Regions from separate parts of the Homo sapiens genome. Here regions 2, 3, 4 and 5 are each linked to region 1. The links are contacts of gene promoters, found by promoter capture Hi-C in human tissues and cell types (Jung and others, 2019). All regions are on one chromosome and are shown on one strand. The core of a region is centred on a gene start or on the middle of the fragment in contact, and the rest is flanking DNA. Distances in the headings are between cores, read along the strand shown.

Region 1 (2,548 bases), core at 13-2,512:
AGTTTCTTGAGTATCCTTCAAACTTTTTATGAAAAAGCTGTCTTTAAATAAAGCTAATGTTTTACAGGTGTTAGCAAGGTTCGGGGTGGGGGAGGGTGGAAGAAGTAGTGGACTAGGTCCTATTCAACCTGGTTTACCCTAAAGCAGTGTCCTTCGCTCACTCAAAAATAACAATAATCATATGTTGGGCACCTGTTATAAGTCAGATGCTTAATATTAACTACCTTCAGCCCTTAGTATGCACCAGAAATGCACTAATGCTTTACACAATTGCCCCCTTTGATCTCCACAACAATCTTAAAAGGTAGGTTACTAATTCTCATCTTCATCTTACAAGTGAGGAAACTGAGGCACAGAAAGGTCACCTGCCCAAGCAAGAGAGAGGAGCAGGGCTTTGAACCCAGGCCTGACTCCAGAGTCCCTCTTAACCGTGACGCTCTACACTAGCAAACCAGATATAGTCTCTGCACCCGCTGGAACTCAGCCTAATGTGGGAGACGGGCGAGAAAAAGGCAGACAACAAAGAAATACGAAATTATAGACTAAGAAAGTAATGTAAACGAAACGAATTCGCGGCTGTGACAGAATAACAATGGGGACCTACTTTAGAAAGGGGAAGGAAAGAGTGTCAAGGAAAGGCCTGAGAAAATGACATTTATGAAATGCTCGGGAACCATTTGGGGGCTGCAATGATGACCCCCTCCCCCACGCCCAATACACGGGATAAACTCGAGGCCCACAGAGGCTAAAACAAACACGACAGGGTCCCCCAGACGTGTAGACGTGGCGCAAAGAAGGGAGGATCCAGAAACTGGGCCCAGGGTTCGTACACGCCATCAGTGTCCACAGCAGCCCAGCCCCGCTCGGCCCCTGACAAGGGACATCAAGCCAGCTGCTTCCCACGGCCCCGCTGCAGCTGAGAGCGTCCGGGCAGCTCACAGGGAGGCCTTCCGGCCAGCCAAAAGGGCTTTGGCCCGTCCAGCGGCGGCCTGGAAAGGCCTCTTCCCCGGCCCCCCGCCAGCTCCCGCCTGGTCCGCCCCGCCCCGCCCCTCCTGGTCCAGCCTCGTACCTGCACCGCCCGGACCAGGCCCCGGCCGGTCAGCTGGCCCTGCCGCAGCTGCAGCAGAATGTTACCAGGCCGCGGCCGGCCGCCCCATCCGCCCCAAGCCGCCACTGTGGCTGCCGACCGTCTCCCTCGGCCGGCTCCAGACCCAGCCGCTACCGGCGCCGCCGCCATGTCTCCTCGTCGGACAAACAGGAAGCAAGCGGCCTCGGGGCCGCGGAGATTTCTACGGGGCGGCGGAGGGGTCGCCGCAGCGCCCCCAGTGGGCCGTCGGCGGAGGCGCAAGCCGCGTGGCAGGGACCGTGTGCGGCGTGGAGGCTACTGGGAATTGTAGTCCTGCGCGGCAGCGGGGTAGGTGGGAAAAGAGATGTGGCCTTTCCTGCACTGCCGGTTTCTCTGGCCCCCGGGCCCAGCATTTCGGCGAAATCTCCCAAGGTCCACATTCTCCCATTTCTCTCGCCGATTTGGGCAGGATGCAGGCAGCTGGCCAAGAAATGATCCTGGGCTTCAGGTCAGGAGTCAGGCCCTCGAGTCCGCTTCCTGCCTGCTTCTCTCTACACGTGACTCACCGCGGACATCGACCAAGTCATCGCGCTCTGCCACTGCGCCTGTGTCCTCGTCAGGTCACTCCATCTATAGATTCTGGGAGCCTGATCAATCGTAGTTCCTGGGGCTTTCTCTGCGCCCGACACCAAACCATGTCTAGGGGAAAGGGAGGGTGTCTGGGATACAGTGGTGAGCAGAACGGCCTGGGATCCTTTATCACGAAATGCAGGTTACAGGGGAAGACAGCAGATCCATACACAAAGAAACGCAGTCTCAAACTGGATAAGTTGTGTAACTGGGTAGGTTGTTGTGAAATTAAATAATGGAAGGGAAAGGGATTAGTAAATTGTGACATCATATTCTCTGTCAGATGAAAACCCTGTCCTAATTTCTATCCACCAGATAGCATGTTGTCTCTAATACTCATTTTTTCAGCTAACTTCTGTGGCAGGATGGCACTGACTCCCCCCACCCAACACACACACACTTTTTCCCTTCCTAGCAGGGGGCCTGTAATAAAAATGAAAGAGGAGAGCTAAGTGTGATGTAACAGGGAATGGTGAAGATTGTGACTCATAACTAAGATGACTGTAACTTACTGCTCAAACCAGAACACTTTAAAGAATGAAAAGACACAATAAATAATTACACCGGGACGGTAGGCATAAAAGTGACTCTCCCAGGTGAACTGGCACTATGGTTACCATCCTCACACCCCATCTAAAAGGAGTAGACTCACCATCCATCTTCATAGAACTAGAAAAAAGAATCCTAAAAATCATATGGAACCAAAAAAGAGCCTGCATGTCCAAAGCAAGACTAAGCAAAAAGAATAAATCTGGAGGCATCACATTACCTGACTTCAATCTATACAATAAGGCCATAGTCACCCAAACAGCATGGTACTGGTATAAAAATAGGCACATAGACCAATGGAAC
Region 2 (2,548 bases), core at 35-2,534, 790 kb before region 1:
GCTCACTGCAACCTCCGTCTCCCCGGCTCAAACAGTCCTCCTGCCTCAGCCTCCCGAGTAGCTGGGAATGAAGGCGCCCGCCACCACGCCCAGCTAGTTTTTGTATTTTTGGTAGAGATAGCGTTTCACCACGTTGGCCAGGCTGGTCTCGAACTCTTGACCTCAAGTGATTCGCCCACCTCGGCCTCTCAAAGTGCTGGGACTACAGGGGTGAGCCACCACACCCGGTCCAATAGTGTCAAAGTTACTTGAAAAGCTACCAGCCAAACTGAACTGGTTTTTGCTGAAAATTCACTAGGATTGTTCCGCGTGTATTCGCTTGCACACAGTGGTGAAAGGGTGCGCTCAGAGATCTAGATGGCCTGCGTTCCAATCTTGCTCCATCACCACCAGCTGTAAGACTGAGGGCAAGTTACCTCTGCCTCAGGATTCTCATCATAAAATGAGAACAGTTTCCCTATAGAGCCATGAGACTAGAATAAAGCTAGAAGGCAGTGCCGATCCCACAGGAAACACTAAGTAAACGTTAACTATCCCTGTATTACACTTCAATCGGTGGGACAGCAGGATTTTTCAAACCACTCCAAATTTTCTTCGAGATTTCTGCAAGGCTGCCCCTGCTGGAGGGGTGGGGGACCCCACAGGTTGGGTAACTGGCCCAAAGTCCCAGGGGAGAGGAGGATCGGAGCCGGCCTGGGGCTCGCTTTCCAGGCCTCTCCTCATACACCCTCCGGGGTGCCCTCGCCGTCCCTGTAGGAGGCCCAGAGAGGGGTGGACGCTCGTCGGGGCCGCCCAGCTGGACAGGGTCCGGTCCAGGCCTAGGAGGCCGGGCGCAGGCCCCCCGAGCAGGGTCCGGCAGGTGCCAGCCGTCCCAGGCCGTGGCCAGGTGTGCTCTCCCGCGGAGCACGCCGCCAGTTTGCGGCTCGCAGACCGCGCGGCGGCCCCGGCGTCGCGGGGCATGCTGGGACTTGTAGTCCACGGCCACCCGGAACGGCCCGCTCATGGCCGCGCGAGAACTCCAACTTCCAGCTGGCTTCGCGCGGCCAGAAACGCGCCGAGGCTGCGATTCCAGGGGGTCCAGAGAGCCCCGAGTCGGCCCTGCAGCCCCCGCCACGAACAAGCCCCGGGCGGGTGCCGGGCGGCCGCAACCGGCTGCAGGTCCTGGGACTCACCGACTTTGTAGGGCAGTTTGTCAGACATGCTGGCGGCACTCGTGATGGAAACGGGCGAAGGGGGCTGGGCCTCAGTCTGGGAACAGGAACTGGGCGGGCAGCGCCGAGCAGGGATATGCGCGTGGCGCCGACGCCTTTAAATATCTTCCTCGCACTTGCATATTCATGACCCGCTGGGGCGGGGCCCAACGCGCAGGGCGGAGCCGGAGGGGATTTCGATCCCTGAAAAGAAGCCTCAGAATTTCACAAGGCGTGGCCCCAGGAGTCTCACTCACCGGTCCGGAAGGGAGCGCCGGGAGAGGCCTGAGAGCCAGCCGGGCCGTCCTCTCGCTGGTTCAGCCAGTTGATTCAGTGTCAAAACCCAGCGGAACTGAAATTCCGCCAGTTCACTTCCCTGTGCCTCAATTTCCTCATCTGTAAAATGGGCCAAATGACATCTGCCACACAGATTATTATAAGTAAAGTTGCAGGCCAGGCGCGGTGGCTCACACCTGTAATCCCAGCACTTTGGGAGGCCAAGGCGGGAGGATCGCTTGAGCCCAGGAGTTCAAGACCATCCTGGGCAACACAGTGAGACCTGAACTCTACAAAAAAAAATTAAAAATTAGCCGGGCGTGGTGGCGCGCGCTTGTGGTCCCAGCTACTTGGGACGCGGAGGCGGGAGGGAGGATCTTTTGAGCCTGGAGATCGAGGCTGCAGTGAGCTATCATCCCACCACAGCACTTGAGCCTGGGCGAAAGGGCAAGACCCTATCTCAAAAAAACCAAAACAAAGTTAAGTTGCCATTTGTCAGGTACCTACTGACATCCCAAACATTCGCCTTACTCCAAGTAACCAACACCCTGAATTTAAGTAAGTTTGCATACATTTCTTATACTTTTACTGCATCCGTATATCATTAAATAGTTCTGTGTTTAGCACCTTTATATATCAACCGTATTTACCCTTCTGCAACTTGCTTTTTTCTGTGAGCATTATATTTATGAGACTCATGCATATAGCTTGAGTATATTCATTTTTGCTGCTGTATAATTCAGTCATCCCAGGCATGGGAAGGGGAAATTGGTTTCAGGACCTCTGTGGACTCCAAAACCCTTCTATGTTCAAGTCCCTCATATAAAATGAGGCAGTATTGGCATATAACCTATGCACATTCCTCCGTACACTTTAATCATCTCTAGATTACTTATAACTAATATAATGTAAATGCTATGCAAATGGTTGTTTTGTAATTTGTATTATTTTTATAGTTATGTTTTTTTAATTGCTTTTTTTCCCCTGAATTTTTTTTTTTTTTTATGGAGTCTCACTCTGTCGCCCACACTGGAGTGCAGTGGCACCATCTAGGCTCGCTGCAACCTCCACCTCCCGGGTTC
Region 3 (2,548 bases), core at 17-2,516, 640 kb after region 1:
CAAAAACTCAGGTTTACAGCTCTTCAGAAAATAGGTTGACAACCAGTCTGTGTCACAATAACTTTGTTCCTTTTACTATTCTAGGATACTATGAAGTGTATGTTAAGAATCAGAATTATACAATTAAAAAAATTTATACTCAGTCAACTGTTTCTCAGAACATGCCATTTTTCTACTACCTAACAAACTATAGCTCAATGTGGCTTTTAAGACAATGAAGTTTTAGAATGAAAAATGCAACACGGCACTTTCCTTTGGTTAAGAAATTTAATTTAGTACTAAAGGTTTAAAGCAGAGTGTTCTGTATGTTTTATATCTATTCCTAAATACAAAAATTTTCTTCCAGGTAACTTTAAAATTAATTTGAAACATAAAGTTCCTTCAGAAAATCAAGAGTCCTGATTGAACAAGGGAATCATTTATTTATCACCTATAATTGACGAGAAGTCTGACTGGAAAGTATTTTAAGATTACCAAAGTGTTTTGAAAGGATCTTCCCTTAGACAATCTCATGGTTAAAGAAAATTGTCCATTCTCCTATTTAGTCCTGTGGTTCTCTACATTAGACAAAGGCCACCGAATATCACACATGGAGAACTTGATGCTCAGCTTCCTTGTAAAAGCTTGTAGCCTTAATCAGCTTATACACAGGATAAAAACAAGTAGACACCGGAGATGACCTTAGTGGCAAAAAGCGACATGAGACAATGGTACAGTAACGAAGGTCTGTACCCAAAAGTGTACGTTCTTATCCTTCTGGCACTTGAAGCGAAATCTTTAGCCACTCGGCCTGACACCTAAATTGGATAATTTATGTCAATTTATATGGATACACCTTCCTGGGTTTTCTTTTGATTAGAGAATTGCAAAACAAAAACATTAGGAAACCATTACTGTGGCAGAAAGTCTAAAACCAGATGACATAAACCATACCTCTGGTTGGTTGCATCAGATCCCACATCAAGACTAAACCCAACCTGATCCCCACAATTTCTTGTGATTGGTGAGGAACTATAAATGACTCCCATCCAAGCTTATACCAGAAAAAAGGAGCACATTTTCTACAAATTATATCATTTTTAATCCATTACCACATTATTTTAGGGGAACTACAAAAAAAAAAAATAGTGGCTTAACAAGCCCTGAATAACATTATATATTTTCTCATCTGTTTTATGAAATTTTATCAACCTACCTAACACAGTTGTAGTGAGAAAGACTGACATACTTACTATGAAGCATTTAGGGATCTTAGGAGGAAAAGAGCCAAAAAGAAATCAAATAAATGGCTATTTTTCTCTCGTTTTTCATTAACATAAGGTCGTAAGTATGACAGATTTTTATGTTTGTTTGAGACGGAGTCTCGCTCTGTCTCCAGGCTGGAGTACAATGGCATAATCTCAGCTCATTACAACCTCTGCCTCCCAGGTTCAAGCGATTCTCCTGCCTCAGCCTCCCGAGAGTAGCTGGGACTACAGGCGTGCACCACCACGCCCAGCTAATTTTTGTATTTTTAGTAGAGACGGGGTTTCACCATGTTGGCCAGGATGGTCTCGATCTCCTGACCTTGTGATCCACCCGCCTGAGCCTCCCAAAGTGCTGGGATTACAGGTGTGAGCCACCACGCCAAGCCCAGACTTTTTTTTTAAGACGGAGTCTCAGTTGGGTCCATGTCTCACGCCTGTAATCCCAGCACTTTGGGAAGCCAAGGCGGGCGGATCATGAGGTCAAGAGATGGAGACCATCCTGGCCAACATCGTGAAACCCTGTCTCTACTAAAAACACAAAAATTGGCTGGGCATGATGGCTCACGCCTGTAATCCCAGCACTTTGGGAGGCCAAGGCAGGTGGATCACGAGGTCAGGAGTTGAAGACCAGCCTGGCCAGGATGGTGAATCCCCATCTCTACCAAAAGTACAAAAATTAGCCAGGTGCGGTGGCAGGCACCTGTAATCCCAGCTGCTCGGGAGGCTGAGGCGGAAGAATCGCTTAAGCCCGGGTGGCAGAGGTTGCAGTGAGCCAAGACTGCGCCACTGCACTCCAGCCTGGGCAACAGACTGAAACTCCATCTCAAAAAAAAAAAAAAAAAAAAATTAGCCAGGCGTGGTGGCAGGAACCTGTAATCCCAGCTACTCGGGAGGCTGAGGCAGGAGAACTGCCTGAACCCAGGAGGCAGAGGTTGCTGTGAGCTGAGATCGTGTCATGGCGCTCCAGCCTGGGTGACAAAAACGAAACTCTGTCTCAAAGAAAAAATAAAGACAGAGGCTGGGCACGGTGGCTCACACCTGTAATCCCAGCACTTTTGGAGGCCAAGGCAGGCGGATCACAAGGTCAATTCTGGCTAACACAATGAAACCCTGTCTCTACTAAAATTACAAAAAATTAGCCAGGCATGGTGGCAGGCGCCTGTAGTCCCTGCTACCTGGGAGGCTGAGGCAGGAGAATAGCATGAACCCAGGAGGCGGAGCTTGCAGTGAGCAGAGATCACACCACTGCACTCCAGCCTGGGCAACAGAGCAAGACTCCGTGTCAAAAAAAAAAAAAAAAA
Region 4 (2,548 bases), core at 33-2,532, 640 kb before region 1:
AGGCTCCGTCTCAAAAAAGAAGAAGAAGAACAAAGAGAGAATTCTGGATTCTGCAAATAAATTTTTAAAATTTAATGCGACTGCCAAGACATGAACTTATCTTGCTGTTATGTTAACAAGAGCAAGCTGTAACACTGTGGGTGATTATGTTTTTCTTTTTTTTTTTTTTGAGACGGAGTCTCGCTCTGTCGCCCAGGCTGGAGTGCAGTGGCGCGATCTCGGCTCACTGCAACCTCCGCCTCCCGGGTTCACGCCATTCTCCTGCCTCAGCCTCCCGAGTAGCTGGGACTACAGGCGCCCGCTACCACGCCCGGCTAATTTTTTGTATTTTTAGTAGAGACGGGGTTTCATTGTGTTAGCCAGGATGGTCTCGATCTCCTGACCTCGTGATCCGCCCGCCTCGGCCTCCCAAAGTGCTGGGATTACAGGTGTGAGCCACCGCGCCCGGCCTATGTTTTTCTTTAGAGACAGCCTTTGAGTTGGTGATAAGCTTATGCACTGAAGATGCCTTGACCAGCAAAACCTGTGTCATGAGAGGCAGAGTCCCACTTTTCTGTATATTATGCACATTGGAATTCTATTTTCATTTTAAGCTAAGCTGACATAGAAAGTAGCTTTAAATGTCAGAAGCAGGTTTGTGATACTCACTAGTTACATCCATTTTAACCTCTGTTATCACTACTACTTGAAATCATGGAATTATATTGGAAATAAAATTAAATATTACCAAATACGAACTTGACAAGACTATAATTTGGCCTAAAACTGATCCAGATGATCTCAAGTGTTAATTTGAAAAATAGTTACCAATTTTTCTTTTTTCTTTTCCTGTTTTTTTTTTTTTTTTTTTTTTTTTTTTTGAGATGGAGTTTTGCTCTTGTCGCCCAGGCTGGAGTGCAATGGCATGATCTTGGCTCACTGCAACCTCTGCCTCCCGGGTTCAAGCGATTCTCCTGCCTCAGTCTCCCTAGTAGCTGGGATTACAGATGCCCACCACCATGCCCAGCTAATTTTTGTATTTTTAGTAGAGACGGGGTTTCGACCTGTTGGCCACGCTGGTCTCAAACTCGTGACCTCAGGCCATCCGCCTGCCTTATAACTCCCAGAGTCCTGGGATTACAGGCGTGAGCCACAGCGCAGGACCAATAGTTAACCAATTTTTCAAACCACAGGAAATAAAAATTAGCCATGTCAACATGGATTAAACTTAAATTTTTGTTTAAAATGCTGATTTTTAGAAACTAAGCTTTTTAAAAAGTTTCAGTTCATTCTATGATCTTTAATACATCAGTTCATTCTATGATCTTTAATACATCAGTTATTCATTTTGAGACATGTTGAACAAATAAATTAGGATACAGCAGGAATCCCATCTTTTGAAGAATTCATTGGTAATGGGACAGAGAAGTCAGTAATTCAAAAACAGCAGAACTGTTAAAATTTCAAGTCTACTTAATTTGTTTACTAAAAGAGAAAATGATATCCACATTTTTTTTTTTTTTTTGAGACGGAGTCTTGCTCTGTCGCCAGGCTGTAATCCATCTCGGCACACTGTAACCTCTGCGTCCCGGGTTCAAGCAGTTCTCCTGCCTCAGCCTCTCGAGTTGCTGGGACTACAGGTGCACACCGCCATGCCTGGCTAATTTTTTTTTTTTTTCTTTTTTGTATTTTAGTAGAGACGGGGTTTCACCATGTTGCCCAGGTTGGTCTTGAACTCCTGAGCTCAGGCAGTCCGCCCGCCTCTGCCTCCCAACGTGCTAGAATTACAGGCATGAGCTACTGCGCCCGGCCAATATCCACATCTTCTAAACCTTAATGGGGAGATTTCAGGAAAGCAGGTAAAATTTTGTAGACTGGGAACACGAAAACAGGGAGAATCCTAAAGCAAGAGGCAGTTGGGGAACAAGCAGCAGCTTTAGATGCAGTAATTAGAGAACTGAGTTCTGCTTCCTATCCCTTGTATAGAAAGTTACTGTAGATATTTAGGATTTTGGAACTGGGTATATTAAGGAACGAGATATGTTAAGTGTATTAAGAAAGGAAGTATTTTTTAGTTGAATAATGCCTAGCATATACCTTATATTATATTCCTTATTTTGTATATATATGTATGTATATATACACACTCTCAAATTACATTATATTCCTTATTTTATATATATTTTTATATATTGTGTGTGTGTGTGTGTGTGTGTGTGTATATATATATATATATATATATATATATATTTTTTTTTTTTTTTTTTTTTTTTTTTTGAGACAGGGCCTCACTTTGTCACCCAGGCTAGAGTGCAGTGGCATGATCTCAGCTCACTGCAGTCTTGACCTCCCAGGTTCAGGTGACCCTCCTGCCTTAGCCCCGGAAGTTGCTTCTCTGTCCCATTACCAATTAATTCTTCAAAAGATGGGACTCTTCTGGTATCCTAATTTTTTTATTTGTTCAACATGTCTCAAAATGAATAACTGATGTATTAAAGATCACAGAATGGATTCAAACTTTTTAAAAAGCTTAGTTTCTAAAAATCAAGTTGTACAAGTTGTGGGGCTA
Region 5 (2,548 bases), core at 24-2,523, 570 kb before region 1:
CCACCATGCCTGGCTAATTTTTCTATTTTTGGTAGAGACAGGGTTTTTTTTCTATTTTTAGTAGAGACAGGGTTTCACCATGTTGACCAGGCTGGTCTCAAACTCATGACCTCAGGTGATCCGCCCACCTCCGCCTCCAAAAATGCTGGGATTATGGGCGTAAACCACCATGTATGTTAACAATTTGAAGCAGTACCAGAGGATATAATATAGAAAGTTTATGTGGTCCCCATCTTACTACCCCGTGGCAACTTCTGTTGGCAGTTGGGTGTGTTTCCTTCCAGATGTGTTTGGTGCATAAGCACATTTATGTATAAGCTGTTTATTAGATGAAACTGGAATATATATATATTTGTATATGTTAACTTTACTTTAAGGCTGAAGTGGAGAGATCGCCTGAGCCCAGGAGGTCAAGGCTACAGTGAGCCGTGACTGCACCACTGCACTCCACCCTGGGTGAGAAAAAAATAAGAGAAAACAGAAGTTGACTTTAAGATATATATGTATATATCTTATTCTGCAACTTGTTCTGTTCACTTAAAAATATCACACATTTTTCTGTGTTATTATATGCAGGTCCACTTCATTCTTTTTAAGGTCTGTATCGTATCCTAGTCCCATATGTACATTTAGGTGGTGTATAGTTTTTTTATTCCAGACACTGCTGCAGTAACTGTTCTTGTCTTTTTTGCACTCATGCTAGTGGTTATGTAGGATAGATTTCTACAAGTGGCACTTTTGGCTTGCATATTTTACATTTTAGGTGGAAACTGACCTTTAGAATAATGATATAAAAATCATCTATAATTGGCCGGACACAATGGCTGACGCATATAATCCCAGCACTTTGGGAGGCCAAGGTGGGCAGATCACTTGAGGTCAGGAGTTGGAGACCAGCCTGGGCAACATGGTGAAACTCTGTCTCTACTAAAAATACGAAAAGTAGCCGGAAGCCGTGCATCTGTAATTCCAGCTGCTCAGGAGGCTGAGGCACTAGAATCGCTTGAACCCGGGAGGCGGGGGTTGCAGTGATCCGAGACCAGGCCAGTGCACTCCAGCCTGGGCAACAGAGCAAGACTCTGTCTCAAAATAAATAAATAAAATTAAAAAATAATCACATATAATTCTCCTCGTCCAGTTTCACTGTGCCACATAACTATTTTCATCTTTGTATGTTCTCCTTCCTCTTTTGTTCACATATGCATATTTTCCAAGATAATGCATGCTGAGTTTTGGGGGGATTTTTTTCTTTTTTTGTTGTTTTAATATCCAAAAACATTTAACCTTGTTGTCATATCATCTTTGTGATTAACTACTTAGTGACTACATAATACTCGGTGAAATAGTTGTACCATAATTGGCCAAATATCTTACCTGTGTACATTTGGGTTGCTCCCATTTCTTTTTGGTTTGTTTGTTTTAGAGATGGAGTCTCACTCTGTTGCCCAGACTGGAGTTCAGTGGCTCAATCTCAGCTCACTGCAACCTCTGCCTCCCAGGTTCAAGTGATTTTCCTGCCTCAGCCTCCTGAGTAGCTGGGATTAACAGGTGTGCATCATGACGCCCAGCTAATTTTTGTATTTTTTAGTAGAAACAGGGTTTCGCCATGTTGGCCAGGCTGGTCTCAAACTCCTGACCTCAGGTGATCCGCCTGCCTCAGCCTCCCAAAGTGCCAGGATTACAGGCATGAGCCACCATACCTGGCTGCTTCCATTTCTTAATTAGTAGAAATAGTGCTGTGATGATGCTTCTGTGAATATCTTGTTTTGTTTCATTTTAACTTACTTATTAGATTATTTCCTCAGGATAAAATTCTTAGGAAAATAATTTCTGAGGTGGAAGGACCAGTGCTTTTATGGTTCTTGCAATATATTGTCCTGTAGCTTTGTCAAGATTGTATTGCCCTTGCACCTGCCAGTTTTGTAATAACAATGCCAGCATTTAAAAATAAACCTCAGCATTGCTATAATTTTTCATTTCTGTCTTTTTTTTTTGAAATGGAATCTCACTCTGTTGCCCAGGCTGGAGGGCACGATCTCAGCTCACTACAAACTCTGCCTCCCAGGTTCAAGCAATTTTCCTGCCTCAGCCTCCTGAGTAGCTGGGATTACAGGCCCATGCCACCATGACGGCTAATTTTTGTATTTTTAGTAGAGACAGGGTTTCCCCATGTTGGCCAGGCTGGTCTCAAACTCCTGACCTCAAGTGATTCACCCACCTCAGTTTCCCAAAGTGCTGAGATTACAGGTGTGAGCACCACGCCCAGCTGAATTTTTCATTTGTTTGTGAGGGATGATGACCATGGTTTGATGTGATTGTAATTTCTCGTAGGCATATTTTCTACTAGTATTCTTTTGTGCACTACCTACTAGAGACTTGCTATTGTTCTTAGTCATTTTGTGTTTTTTTTTTATTTATTTTGTCTGTTATATTTGATGCAAATACTTTTCTATCCTGTTAGATTAGTTATTCTTATACAGAAGTTTTATGTTTAGTGGTCAAATTGGTCATAGTTCTTTGTCAGTCATTTGCTTCCAGTGGTCATCCC

What was found. Contacts are between HindIII fragments. The study calls those that stand out against the background at their distance.
Region 2: the fragment with the promoter of AHCY here is called in contact with the fragment with the promoter of TRPC4AP in region 1 in 1 of the 25 tissues and cell types used here (small bowel).
Region 3: a contact is called between a fragment that was not itself captured here and the fragment with the promoter of TRPC4AP in region 1, in 1 of the 25 tissues and cell types used here (aorta).
Region 4: a contact is called between a fragment that was not itself captured here and the fragment with the promoter of TRPC4AP in region 1, in 1 of the 25 tissues and cell types used here (psoas muscle).
Region 5: a fragment that was not itself captured here is called in contact with the fragment with the promoter of TRPC4AP in region 1 in 1 of the 25 tissues and cell types used here (adrenal gland).

Annotation. Positions count from the first base shown.
Region 1 is chr20:35,091,545-35,094,092 of GRCh38, forward strand. TRPC4AP (transient receptor potential cation channel subfamily C member 4 associated protein) reads right to left here and starts at 1,263. Exons shown (of 19, transcript NM_015638.3): 1 at 1,070-1,263. The coding sequence starts at 1,237. RefSeq lists a silencer at 1,035-1,164. The HindIII fragment of the contact is 9,696 bases long and covers 1-2,548 here.
Region 2 is chr20:34,302,071-34,304,618 of GRCh38, forward strand. AHCY (adenosylhomocysteinase) reads right to left here and starts at 1,285. Exons shown (of 10, transcript NM_000687.4): 1 at 1,173-1,285. The coding sequence starts at 1,200. RefSeq lists a silencer at 660-889 and enhancers at 1,460-1,509, 1,530-1,649. The HindIII fragment of the contact is 38,207 bases long and covers 1-2,548 here.
Region 3 is chr20:35,735,318-35,737,865 of GRCh38, forward strand. All of the region lies in intron 3 of RBM39 (RNA binding motif protein 39), which reads right to left. Among named protein-coding and RNA genes, the nearest start is that of RBM39, 5.7 kb to the right of the region's middle. The HindIII fragment of the contact is 5,614 bases long and covers 1-2,548 here.
Region 4 is chr20:34,453,987-34,456,534 of GRCh38, forward strand. The region is part of intron 12 of ITCH (itchy E3 ubiquitin protein ligase); the gene reads left to right. Among named protein-coding and RNA genes, the nearest start is that of MIR644A, 11 kb to the right of the region's middle. The HindIII fragment of the contact is 4,557 bases long and covers 1-2,548 here.
Region 5 is chr20:34,519,043-34,521,590 of GRCh38, forward strand. All of the region lies in intron 1 of DYNLRB1 (dynein light chain roadblock-type 1), which reads left to right. Among named protein-coding and RNA genes, the nearest start is that of DYNLRB1, 3.9 kb to the left of the region's middle. The HindIII fragment of the contact is 5,242 bases long and covers 1-2,548 here.